Linked DNA regions of Homo sapiens: all the other regions are linked to region 1. Evidence: promoter capture Hi-C in human tissues and cell types (Jung and others, 2019). All regions are on one chromosome and are shown on one strand. Each heading gives the region's core, a stretch centred on a gene start or on the middle of the fragment in contact. The rest is flanking DNA. Distances are from core to core; before and after follow the strand shown. Region 1 holds the start of SIX3 (SIX homeobox 3). Region 2 has its middle 65 kb from the start of LRPPRC. Region 3 has its middle 86 kb from the start of LRPPRC. Region 4 overlaps PPM1B (protein phosphatase, Mg2+/Mn2+ dependent 1B).

Evidence for each region. Contacts are between HindIII fragments. The study calls those that stand out against the background at their distance.
Region 2: a contact is called between a fragment that was not itself captured here and the fragment with the promoter of SIX3 in region 1, in 2 of the 25 tissues and cell types used here (H1 embryonic stem cells and lymphoblastoid cells).
Region 3: a contact is called between a fragment that was not itself captured here and the fragment with the promoter of SIX3 in region 1, in 1 of the 25 tissues and cell types used here (H1 embryonic stem cells).
Region 4: a fragment that was not itself captured here is called in contact with the fragment with the promoter of SIX3 in region 1 in 1 of the 25 tissues and cell types used here (H1 embryonic stem cells).

The regions. Positions count from the first base shown.
Region 1 is chr2:44,940,299-44,943,224 of GRCh38, forward strand. SIX3 (SIX homeobox 3) reads left to right here and starts at 1,404. Exons shown (of 2, transcript NM_005413.4): 1 at 1,404-2,612. The coding sequence starts at 1,807. SIX3-AS1 (SIX3 antisense RNA 1) reads right to left here and starts at 1,580. Exons shown (of 2, transcript NR_103786.1): 1 at 1,412-1,580; 2 at 1-535. RefSeq lists enhancers at 1-69, 838-1,364, 2,447-2,926. The HindIII fragment of the contact is 28,963 bases long and covers 1-2,926 here.
Region 2 is chr2:44,059,758-44,062,683 of GRCh38, forward strand. No RefSeq gene overlaps it. Among named protein-coding and RNA genes, the nearest start is that of LRPPRC, 65 kb to the left of the region's middle. RefSeq lists enhancers at 562-1,097, 1,933-2,506. The HindIII fragment of the contact is 6,972 bases long and covers 1-2,926 here.
Region 3 is chr2:44,080,847-44,083,772 of GRCh38, forward strand. No RefSeq gene overlaps it. Among named protein-coding and RNA genes, the nearest start is that of LRPPRC, 86 kb to the left of the region's middle. The HindIII fragment of the contact is 8,452 bases long and covers 1-2,926 here.
Region 4 is chr2:44,175,117-44,178,042 of GRCh38, forward strand. All of the region lies in intron 1 of PPM1B (protein phosphatase, Mg2+/Mn2+ dependent 1B), which reads left to right. Among named protein-coding and RNA genes, the nearest start is that of PPM1B, 7.7 kb to the left of the region's middle. The HindIII fragment of the contact is 5,147 bases long and covers 1-2,926 here.

The DNA of each region.
Region 1 (2,926 bases), core at 154-2,653:
AAACCGAGTCCTGTCTAAATATACACAGTGCTCAGGGAAAGACGTCTCTGACCCCGACAAATCTGCGTAAATCACACTTCCATAGTTACAGAAGCCTCACAAAGGGAGGCCCGGCTCAAGATGCTGATTACAGCTTCTTAAAAGCAACATACCTAAGAATAAATACCCATGCCTGGCCTAGGGGCTGTGGTGGCCAGAGGCAGAGAGGGCCCTCTGTGTTCTATGGGCCTTTTGGCGTCTGTTTTAGGCTTTCGATGTTACTTTCCCTAGAGAAATTAGACAGTTTAAAAATAATAATGGTAATTATTATTATTTTACAATACGAGCAAACAAGCAATTTTCAGGCCTTATTCACTTCATCCGGGTGGCTGGCCTCCAAAGTTTGAGTGCCCTCTGGGGCTGGCAGGCAGGACCAGAGCTCCTTCTGTTGTGTGGTGAGGAGTGGGCATCTGTAGGACTTTTCTGGGTCCAGAGGGCTCTTGGGCTTCTCGGCTCCCGCAGCTCCTCCACCACTCCTCAGAGAGGCAGCTGAATTCTGGGAAGAAACAAAGAGTTGAGTTGCTTCTTAAGATGGAAAGAAGTGTACTGTTTGGACTGTTATTTTAAAATACAGGGTGGTGGGGGAAATCGAGGCTCCTTGGCCGGGGAGGGAGTAAAGAGAAGCCTAATTGATGAAGAGGGAGTTGAGGTGAATGCGGTCCATGGGCACCGATGGGGGAGGCAAGAGCGGCCTCCAGCACCCTGGGAATTGGGCTCAGGCTCCCTGGCGCCAGATACCCTCGGAATCCGGGATCCCCGGCTGGCGCCACGGCCCGCTGGGCCAAGGTCGGTGCTTGGTGGGCCCCATGATCTCATCTCTCCTTTCTTCCTTGCCACTATTAGTGCTCACATAGGCAGAAAGAGGCGGCCCGACGTGCAAACCATGTGCAAACCGCGCCCGCTGGGCTGGTCAGCCGTCTTTCCTTGCCTGCCGACCTGGACTATGTGGAGCCTGGGGGACCCTCTTGCCTCCCAACAAAATCCCCTCTCTAATTGCACATCCCATTCAACAACTCTGCCCAGGGCTTTTCGAATTTCTGGATCAACTTCTTTAGGAAAAAGGGAAGAAGAAGTCTCAGAGACAGCGGTAGAGAAAAGAGGAGAGAGAGGGAGAAGAGAGAAGAGAGGAGGGGGAGGTAGCGAGATTAAGAGTTGCAAAGATAAAAAAAATTCTCTTTATCCCCCCACTTCTCCCTCCTTCCCTGCTCTCCCCCTCCCCCCGCCCTCTGGCTAAGTGGTAAAACCGTCCTTACGTTCTCGGTATTGATTGGCAGGGCTGACAGTGATTGGCAGTGGTTGCCGTGGCAACGCCACAACGACACGCCACAGACCAATAGAAAAGCGAAACAAAATGTTTCAATGCTGCACTCACTGTGGATTTAGGGGAGATATTATGAGGCTGTTGTCATTAGGGCGATTGCGGTGGAATCGCTGAATCTTGACTCGGCGGTGGTTGGCTCTCCCTCTCCTCTCTCCCTCTCCCTCTCCCTCTCTGTCTCGGGTTCTCTCTCTGCGCGCGCGCACCGGGCCGCTCTCCTACCTCCCTCTCTATGTGGCTGCGCGGGTGTGTGTGTGTGTGGATGTGTGTGGGGTGTGGGTGTCCCTTACGCCCTTCCTCCTCTCCCTCCTCCTCCTGCTCCCCCCTCCTTTCCTTCTCCTCCTCCCCCCTCTCCTCTCCCTCCTCCTGGTCCTCATCGCCCCTCTCCTCCTCTTCCTCCCCTCTCTCTTCCTCTCCCTGAATTTTCTCCTCTCCTCTCAGGTCAGTCCATGGTATTCCGCTCCCCCCTAGACCTCTATTCCTCCCACTTCTTGTTGCCAAACTTCGCCGATTCTCACCACCGCTCCATACTTCTGGCGAGTAGCGGCGGCGGGAACGGTGCGGGAGGCGGCGGCGGCGCGGGAGGCGGCAGCGGCGGCGGGAACGGTGCGGGAGGCGGCGGTGCTGGCGGAGCAGGCGGCGGCGGCGGCGGCGGCTCCAGGGCCCCCCCGGAAGAGTTGTCCATGTTCCAGCTGCCCACCCTCAACTTCTCGCCGGAGCAGGTGGCCAGCGTCTGTGAGACGCTGGAGGAGACGGGCGACATCGAGCGGCTGGGCCGCTTCCTCTGGTCGCTGCCCGTGGCCCCCGGGGCGTGCGAGGCCATCAACAAACACGAGTCGATCCTGCGCGCGCGCGCCGTGGTCGCCTTCCACACGGGCAACTTCCGCGACCTCTACCACATCCTTGAGAACCACAAGTTCACCAAGGAGTCTCACGGCAAGCTGCAGGCCATGTGGCTCGAGGCGCACTACCAGGAGGCCGAGAAGCTGCGCGGCCGCCCACTCGGCCCGGTGGACAAGTACCGCGTGCGCAAGAAGTTCCCGCTGCCACGCACCATCTGGGACGGCGAGCAGAAGACGCATTGCTTCAAGGAGCGGACTCGGAGCCTGTTGCGGGAGTGGTACCTACAGGACCCCTACCCCAACCCCAGCAAGAAACGCGAACTGGCGCAGGCCACCGGCCTCACTCCCACACAAGTAGGCAACTGGTTTAAGAACCGGCGGCAGCGCGACCGCGCCGCGGCGGCCAAGAACAGGTTAGTGGCGGGGCCCGCGGCCTGGCTACAGCCTCAGAGGCCTGGGAAGGGGAGAGGGGTTGAGATGGGGCTAGCGGAGCGGCCGCTGAGAGCCAGGGAAGCCGTGACTCCTGGCCAGTCGGAGAAAGTTTCCGCTTGTCCGGGACGCGCGGAAGAGGGGGCCGGGCTGGCTGTGGGTGTATTGATTGCTTTGACCAAGAGGGGCTTTCGTCAGGGCAGAGAGTGTGTGCTTGCGACCCGAGTACCCGCAGCCCCTGGGAGACTTAGCCCTGCGCTGCACCCGTGCCTGCCTCCTCAGCCCTGCCGCCAGCTCG
Region 2 (2,926 bases), core at 132-2,631, 880 kb before region 1:
GTAAAATCAAAATCAAATTAGTTACTTCCTAGATACAATGGGGGTCCAGGCATTGGATAAACACACCCACTCCAAATGGGAGAAATTGGCCAAAACAAAGGGGATACTGGCCCCATGAAAGTCCAAAATCCATAGGGCAGGCATTAAACCTTAAAGGTGCAAAATAATCTCCTTTGACTCCATGTCTCACATCCAGGCCGTGCTGATGCAACAGGTGGGCTCCCACAGCCTTGGGCAGTTCCACCCCTGTGGCTTTGCAGGTTACATCCCCGCTCCTGGCTGCTTTCACAGGCTGGTGTTGAGTGTCTGCAGCTCTTCCAGGCGCATGGTGCAAGCTGTTGGTAGATCTACCATTCTGGGGTCTGGAGGATGGTGGACCTTTTCTCACAGCTCCATTAGGCAGTGCCCCAGTGGGGACTTTGTGTGGGGACTCCAACTCTACATTTCCCTTCCTCACTGCCCTAGCAGAGGTTCTCCATGAGGGTTCTGCCCCTGCAGCAAACTTCTGCCTGGACATCCAGGCATTTTCATACATCCTCTGAAATCTAGGCAAAGGTTCCCAAACCTCAGTTCTTGACTTCTGTGCACCAACAGACTCAACACCACATGGAAGTTGCTAAGGCTTGAGGCTTCCACTCTCTGAAGCCATGGCCTGAGCTGTACCTTGGCCCCTTTTAGGCACAGCTGGAGTGGCTGAGATGCAGGGCACCAAGTCCCTAGGCTAACACACAGCAGGGGGTCCCTGGGCCTGACCTAAGAAACCATTTCCTTCCTCCTAGGTCTCTGGGCCAGAGATGGGAGAGGCTGCTGTGAAGGTCTCTAACAGGCCCTGGAGACATTTTCCCCATTGTCTTGGTGATTAACATTTGGCACCTCGTTACTTATGCAAATTTCTGCAGCTGGCTTGAATTTCTCCCCAGAAAATGGGGTTTTTGTTTCTATTGCATCAGCAGGCTGCAAATTTTCCAAACTTTTATGCTCTGCCTCCTCTTGAGTACTTTGCCGCTTAGGAATTTCTTCTACCAGATACCCTAAAACATCTCTCTCAAGTTCAAAGTTCCAAAGATCTCTAGGGCAGAGGCAAAATTCCAGCAGTCTCATTGCATAGCAAGAGTCACCTTTACTCCAGTTCCCAAGAAGTTCTTCATCTCCATCTGAGACCACCTCAGCCTGGACTTCATCATCCTTATCACTATCAGCACTTTGATCAAAGCCATTCATCAAGTCTTTAGGAAGTTCCAAACTTTCCCACATCTTCCTGTCTTCTGAGCTCTCTAAGTCTCTAGGAGTAAAAAGAGTAGAGAAAGGGGAGGTGACACCAAGGTTCATTAAGGTATATTGACCTGCAGGTGATGAGAAGTCAATATTGATTTCTAGTGGAAAGTTTTACTGTGAATCAAAATCCAAAGTACAAAAGAGTTGTTTGATGTTTTCTATCACAATACAGCTCACTGATGTGTAGGCTTGGCTATAATTTCATTTTGCCTCCTGGGGCAAAGTTTATAACAAGTACATTTGAAGGCAGAAACATGTTCTTTTCCCTAGGTGGGTTGAAAGGGTTGCCTCAGGTCTGGCTGTGTCAGTGAGGGCTGTCATGCAAAAAAGGAAAACACAGGTAACCAATCCTGCGTCTTCCTCCCCGTTGCTCTGCGCTGCTCCGAAAAGTCCCCATTCTGGCTCCCTTTTTCTTCTTTTTTTTAAAAAAAATTTAAAAGTAAACTTTAATGTCAAAAATGAAAACTTGGGGAGGGCAGAAAGATCACACACACGGCAGCCACTTCACACTTGGAGGGTTGCACAGCAGCCGGGCAGAGGTGCTCCTCACTTCCCAGGCAGGGTGGCCTCTGGGCAGAGGGGCCACTTCCCAGACGGTGTGGCGGCCGGGCGAGGCGCTCCTCTCTTCCCAGACGGAGCGGCGACTGGGCAGAGGCGCTTCTCACTTGCCAGATGGTGGGGCGGCCGGGCAGAGGCTCTCCTCACTTCAGAAATAAGTCCCAGAACCAATGTCTCTCTCTGTTCTTTGCCCCAACCTCCCTGTCGCTCTGGTCCTTTTTCCCGAAGAAGCAATAGAAGGGACCCTCTCTGGAATTTGCTTATCTGACTTCTAAGAACGCTTAAATGCAATTGTCTTAAGACTCCCTCCCTGGGGATCTCATCAACTAACCAGGAATGATCAACCATGAGAGAAGAGACTCAAGTCATCACCATGCCGAGGCTGACTTTTCCTCTGTTATGCGGGTAGCTCCAAGAGATTACCCGCAGCGGGGAACTTTAGTTGCATAATAAGACAACCTTTGTTCCTGTGAAGCAACCTCTGTTCCTTACGTTTCTGTACTGGTGGCCTCCCAACGCCATTCGTTCTCCCTAATGATTTACTACCCCTTCAAAGAATTGTCTACAATTCCCATCTCCCCCCTCCCTTATGAAAAAAGGGGAGCTTCTGGACTGCACTGTTTTTTGGGTGATCAGTCTGTAATTTCCTCCCATGCATGTTAATGTTTTTATGCCTTTTCTCCAATGAATCTACCTTTAGTCAGTTGGTTTTCAGTGAATTTTCAGACACTTCCCTGGAGGAGACATGAGGGCTTTAGGTGGCAACCTAGGGAGGTTACAGGGAGCTGCTCTTGGCAACTATAACTGTAAGGGAGTAAGGACTAAGCAGAGAGAGAAACTGAGCTCTGGCACTGTTAATAAAGGCCTCCATTGATCCCGTGGGGAGCTCTGAAGCTGGGATAGTCTTTTAGAATTGCTCTCAAATGGCTGCGTGCAGTGGCTCATGCCTGTAATCCCAGCACTTTGAAAAGCCAAGGCAGACGGATCACTTGAGGTCAAGAGTTCAAGACCAGCCTGACCAACAGGGTGAAACCCCGTCTCCACTAAAAAATACAAAAAATTAGCTCAGCATGGTGGCATGCGCCTGTAATCC
Region 3 (2,926 bases), core at 191-2,690, 860 kb before region 1:
ATCATTTGAGCCCAGGAGGTCGAGGCTGTAGTGAGTTCAGATCACATCACTACACTCCATCCTGAGCAACACAGCGATACCCTGCCTCAAACAAACAAACAAACAAACAACAAAATAAAGCACAACACTAAGCAATTAATGGTGCAGGTGTTATTTGAATACGGTCACAATTGTGAATGAGTTATGCAAATGACTGAAGTTTGGGAAACACTGATATAGTCCATGTTGTATAATTTTTTTTTTATCACCCTGGAAAGAAATGCAGTTATTATTATTATTATTTTTTTTTTTTGAGACAGAGTCTTGCTCTGTTGCCCAGACTGGAGTGCAGTGGTGCGATCTTGGCTCACTGCAACCTCTGCCTCCCGGGTTCAAGCGATTCTTCTACCTCAGCCTCCCGAGTAGCTGGGACTACAAGTACGCACCACCATGCCCGGCTAATTTTCGTATTTTTAGTACAGACAGAGTTTCACCATATTGGCCAGGCTGGTGTTGAATTCCTGACCTCGTGATCCGCCCGCCTCAGCCTCCCAAAGTGCTGGGATTACAGGTGTGAGCCACTGCGCCTGGTCAAGAGATATATTTTATAATGCCTGCCAACCCATACATACATACATTTATGCAGGAGTACAAAGCTTTTGTGAAACAACATTATTCCTGTTTGTGTGATGCACTCTGGACCCTAGATGCATTTGACTTTCACTTTCCCTTTCTTTCCCCTTCTCCTCATATCTCTAAATCCTTTCTGTCAGTTCTGCCGCTGCTGCCTTTTTTTTTTTTTTTTCCGAAAAAGAGTCTTGCTCTGTCGCCCAAGCTGGAGTGCAGTGGTGCCATCTCAGCTCACTGCAACCTCTACCTCCGTGGTTCAAGCGATTCTCCTGCCTCAGCTTACCAAGTAGCTGGGATTACAGGTGCACGCCACCCCGCTTGGCTTTTTTTCTTTTCAGAAACAGGTTCTCACTCTGTCACCCAGGCTGAAATGCAGTGGCACAGTTATGGCTCACTGCAGCATCGACCTCCTGTGCTCAAGCAATCCTCCCACCTCTGTCTCCTAAAGCACTGGGATTACAAGCATGTGCCACCATACCCAGGCCAGTTCTCCTTCTAAAAGGTCTTTATTCATTCTCTTTCTCATCTCCAGTGCTTCAGTCCTGGTCTATGCCCCATCACCTTTCACTTGGACTATATCTTAACTCATCTTGTCACTTCCAATCCAATTTTTCCCCTTCAATAAACCCTCCACACTATTGCCAAAAAGATCTTTCAAAAACTCTGATTTGGTGGGCATGGTGGCTCACGCCTGTTATCCTAGCACTTTGGAAGGCCGAGGCAGGCAGATGGCTTCAACACAAGAGTTCAAGACCAGCCTAGGCAACATGGTGAAACCCTGTCTCTACAAAAAATAAAAAAAATTAGCCAGGCATAGTGGCACATATCTGTAATCCCAGCTACCCGGGAGGCTGAGGTGGGAGGATCGCTTGAGCCCAGGAGTTTGAGGCCACTGGGATCATGCCACTGCACTACAGACTAGGCAACAGAGCGAGACCCTGTCTCAGTAAAAAAAACACAAACTCTGATTTGGCCCTGTCATGCCCCAGGGCACAGGAGAAAGTCCAAGCTACTCAGTAAGACTTTAAAGGAATTTGGTTGCTGGTGCCTGCTGACCTTCCCATACTCAAATGCTGGCACATCAGGACTTGAAACCCTTCTAGATTCTCGAATCGAGTGCTCTTCTCAAGACATCATACTGCCTCCTCAAAGACACTCTCCTGGTTGTTCTCATTCCACATGTGATACCTGCAGAGGTGACTCCTGCCTCTCTGGCACAGGGCATTTTGAGTAAACCCTGTTCTGAAATAAACAGAATGTCACAAAGTAGGTTGGACATGAAGGGTATTGTGTCTTTGAACACATAATATAATCAGTGGAGGTCACAGAATGAACTAGTGATCAAAGTGAATCAAAAGGAAATTAAAAGTGGACCGGGCGCAGTGGCTCACATCTGTAATCCCAGCACTTTGGGAGGCTGAAGTGGGTGGATTACCTGAGGTCAGAAGTTTGAGACCAGCCTGGACAACATGGTGAAACCCCGTCTCTACTAAAAATACAAAAATTAGCCAGGCGTGGTGGCCGGCGCCTGTAATCTCAGCTACTCGGGAGGCTAAGGCAGAATTGCTTGAACCCGGGAGGTAGATATTGCAGTGAGCCAAGATCCTGCCGCTACACTCCAGCCTGGGTGACACAGCCAGAGTCCATCTCAAAAAGAAAAAAAAAAGGGAAATTAGAAGTGTTTATTAGGCAACACTGCACTCACACTGGAGCCCGCCAATACTGCACAATGATCTGTGCCAGCCCCACTTTGCAATTCTCCCACAAGAAGCCAATGTCTCCAGGGAGCAGACAATGACCCACTGCTTATATTTCAGTCTGGATTAGTTCACAACTGAGCTGTCACTTCCAGCGGTCTTCTGTGGGGTTTGATGTGCCCCCTTGCCAAGGACAGCAATGTGAGTCCTGAGACTTTTGGCCCACTGCTGTCCCAGCGGCCTTGGGCATTTCTGGTACAAAGGGTAAGAGTGTCAGAAACCTGTGAGATTGAAAGGCCTTTAACAGCTTCTATTAAATGTTTGCTTATTCATTTATCTAAAAAATATTTATCCAAAAAATATTTATCCAGCATATACTACATGTCAGGCACTAGACTACGTGTGAAGAGATAATGGTGAGCAAGACAGGTGGGGTCTGGCTTTGGTACTCTTGATGCTTCTAGTTAGCTTAGGGTTTAAACAAGTGATTTTCATAAATCATGATTCCAGCTTTGATAAGGGACATATAGAATGGTATGGAAACACAGTGCAAGAACAGCCAAAGCCAGGGGGCTGCGGTAGGAACACTGAGGCCAGGAATTTGAGACTGCAATGTGCTG
Region 4 (2,926 bases), core at 114-2,613, 770 kb before region 1:
GGCGGCATGTGCCTGTAATCCTAGCTACTCAGGAGGCTGAGACAGGAGAATCGCTTGAACCCAGGAGGTGGAGGTTCAACCCAGCTGAAATCGCGCCACTGCATTCCAGCCTGGGCAAAAGTGAGACTCCGTCTCAAAAAAAACAAAAGTGGGGGTGGGGGAACATAATTAATTCAAAGCACTCCAAATGTTAAGATTATATAGGAGATTTTGTTGAGCTTTGGGAGGCTTTCTGCTTTTATTTACTCTGAGCTACCAACCCACTGAGAAGTAAAGAATTCAGAACAGTCTAATAGTATTTAGTCTGTAACCCTCCAGCCAATTCTTATGTTCACTGAGTGCCTTCTGTGTGCAAAGGCCCCCATTTCATGCCAGTATCTGAACAAAACAGACAAAATCCCAAATCCTTGTCGTTGACGATCTTGCATTCTGTTAACCAGCAACTCACAGTTTACATTACAGCTGAACTCCTTATGTGGCTGGCTTAAAAACTTGAGTGGAAGATTTGGGGTGTGTGTGTTTTGTACACTAAACTTAAAAGCTGTGATTAGAGCTTTACTATTTTTAACAAAAGGAAAGGAAGAGGTTTTCTGTAATTGGATAAAAACTAGACTGAAAAGAGGAAAGAGGAAATATTGTTGTGCCTTAGAGAAAGACATTGGTTTGAGATTTTTTTTTTTTTTTTTTGAGACGGAGTCTCACTCTGTCACCCAGGCTGGAGTGCAGTGGTATGATCTCGGCTCACTGCAACCTCCGCCTCCCAGGTTCAGACAATTCTCCTGCCTCAGTCTCCCGAGTAGCTGGGATCACAGGCATGCACCACCACACCTGGCTAATTTTTGTACTTTTAGTAGAGATGGGGTTTCACTATGTTGGTCATGCTGGTCTGGAACTCCTGACCTCATGATCCACCTGCCTCGGCCTCCCCAAGTGCTGGGATTACAGGCGTGAGTCACCATGCCCTGCCTGGTTTAAGATTAAAAGATGACCCAAAGAGAGAAAAAGAGATCCCTGCATTAGACAGACATGAGGGAAATTTGGGGCCTTCAGGTGTTTCCATTTACTGTACATCCTTGGATAGATGAGTTCCTGGAAAGGAGGATGGGAGTAAAGGTGGAACAATAGGAGAAGGGTGAACAGGATTTTTTAAGTCTGATTTAAATAATTGGGATATACCTATAAAATATATGTTGTCATTTATGTTTAAAAAGCTTTCTGTTCTTACGTGAGTATAGCTGAAGGATTAGTGGTTGACCAATAGTGCCTGGTACTGATTTGTAATGGCTACTTTTGTGCTCTTAGCAAAGATGGCTAATGGAGCCAATTTGTCTCTTGGTTTATTGTGCACAACTTGGTCTATATATTTATCACTGCTTCTCCTTCCATAGCTTTGTTGTATTACTTAACGTCGTGCCTTTGTTTTTTCTGCATGTGAGATGGGCGTATTGCACTTAGATGTGTGAAGCAGGTGCTTAATTTTTGCTTTCTGTTCTTTCTATTGCTTTCCTACTGAACCAGTTTGGTAAAGAGGCCTCTTCTTCAGTTTATACAAACATTGCAAACTTAAGCATAAAAGATCTTTCATCTTTTTGTTCTTATTTTAATGCTTGGTGGTCTTGTGCTTTCATTTATGAGTCAGTTTCATTTGATCTTCATTGCTAAAGTGAATCAAGATTGATTTTTTTAATTTTAAAGCAAATCAACCAACTGGCTGGGGTGCAGTGGTGCAATCTCGGCTCATTGCAGCCGCCACCTCCCAGTTCAAGCGATTCTCCTGCCTCAGCCTCCCAAGTAGCTGGGATTACAGGCCTGCGGCACCACGCCCAGCTAATTTTGTATTTTTCGTAGAGACGGGGTTTCACCATGTTGGCCAAGCTGGTCTCAAACTCCTGACCTCAGGTGATCTGCCCGCCTCAGCCTTCCAAAGTGCTGGGATTACAGGCATGAGCCACCGTGCCCGGCCTAGTTTCATTTTTAATGTATTTTTGTAATTCTGTTACTTTATCAAAATGCTGATATGCAAGAGAACTTGAAATTTTGGAATATATTAAATTTAGTACTGTAATTCAGACCAGATTCATTAAGTTGTTCAACATTTGGCCATCTATCTTAGATTTAAAAATAACCAAAAACAACCTTACTTGAATTTAAAAAAATTATCTCTTGTAACTGGTTTTGTTTATATAATCTAACATTTTATTAAGTCTTTGGTGGTTGCTAGTCCTAAACTTAAGGAAATTGAGTTTGTTTCTATTCATCTGTTCTGGAGTGTTTGGAATTGCAATGTGAAAGTGAAATAACCTTTTTTTTTTTTTTTTTGAGACGGAGTTTTGCTCTTGTTGCCCAGGCTGGAGTGTAGTGGCATGATCTCGGCTCACTGCAGCCTCCGCCTTCAGGTTTTAAGTAATTCTCCTGTCTCAGCCTCGTGAGTAGCTGAGATTACAGGCACGTGCCACCACGCTCAGCTAATTTTTGTATTTTTAGTAGAGACAGGGGTCTCACCATGTTGGCCAGGCTGGTCTCGAACTCCTGACCTCAAGATCTGCCCGCCTCGGCCTCCCAAAGTGCTGGGATTACAGACATGAGCCACCGCGCCCGGCCTACATGTATGTATTTCTAAATAGCATATAGTACTGTTTTAAGAGGTGTATGTACATGACCATATACAGAATTTTTTTTTTTTTTACAATTTGTTCTTGTCACTTAATATTTTTGCAGTTCTTTTTTTGTTCTAGTCCCTTTTTTCCATAGTATTGCATATATATTGCATAGTATTCCATTGTATGATTAGAACAGTTCTTTTTTTTTTTTTTTTTTTAATAAGACAGTCCGGCTCTGTTGCTCAGGCAAGAGTGCAGTGGCTCAATCTTGGCTCACTGCAGCCTTGCCCTCCCAGGCTCCAGTGATCCTCCCACCTCAGCCTCCC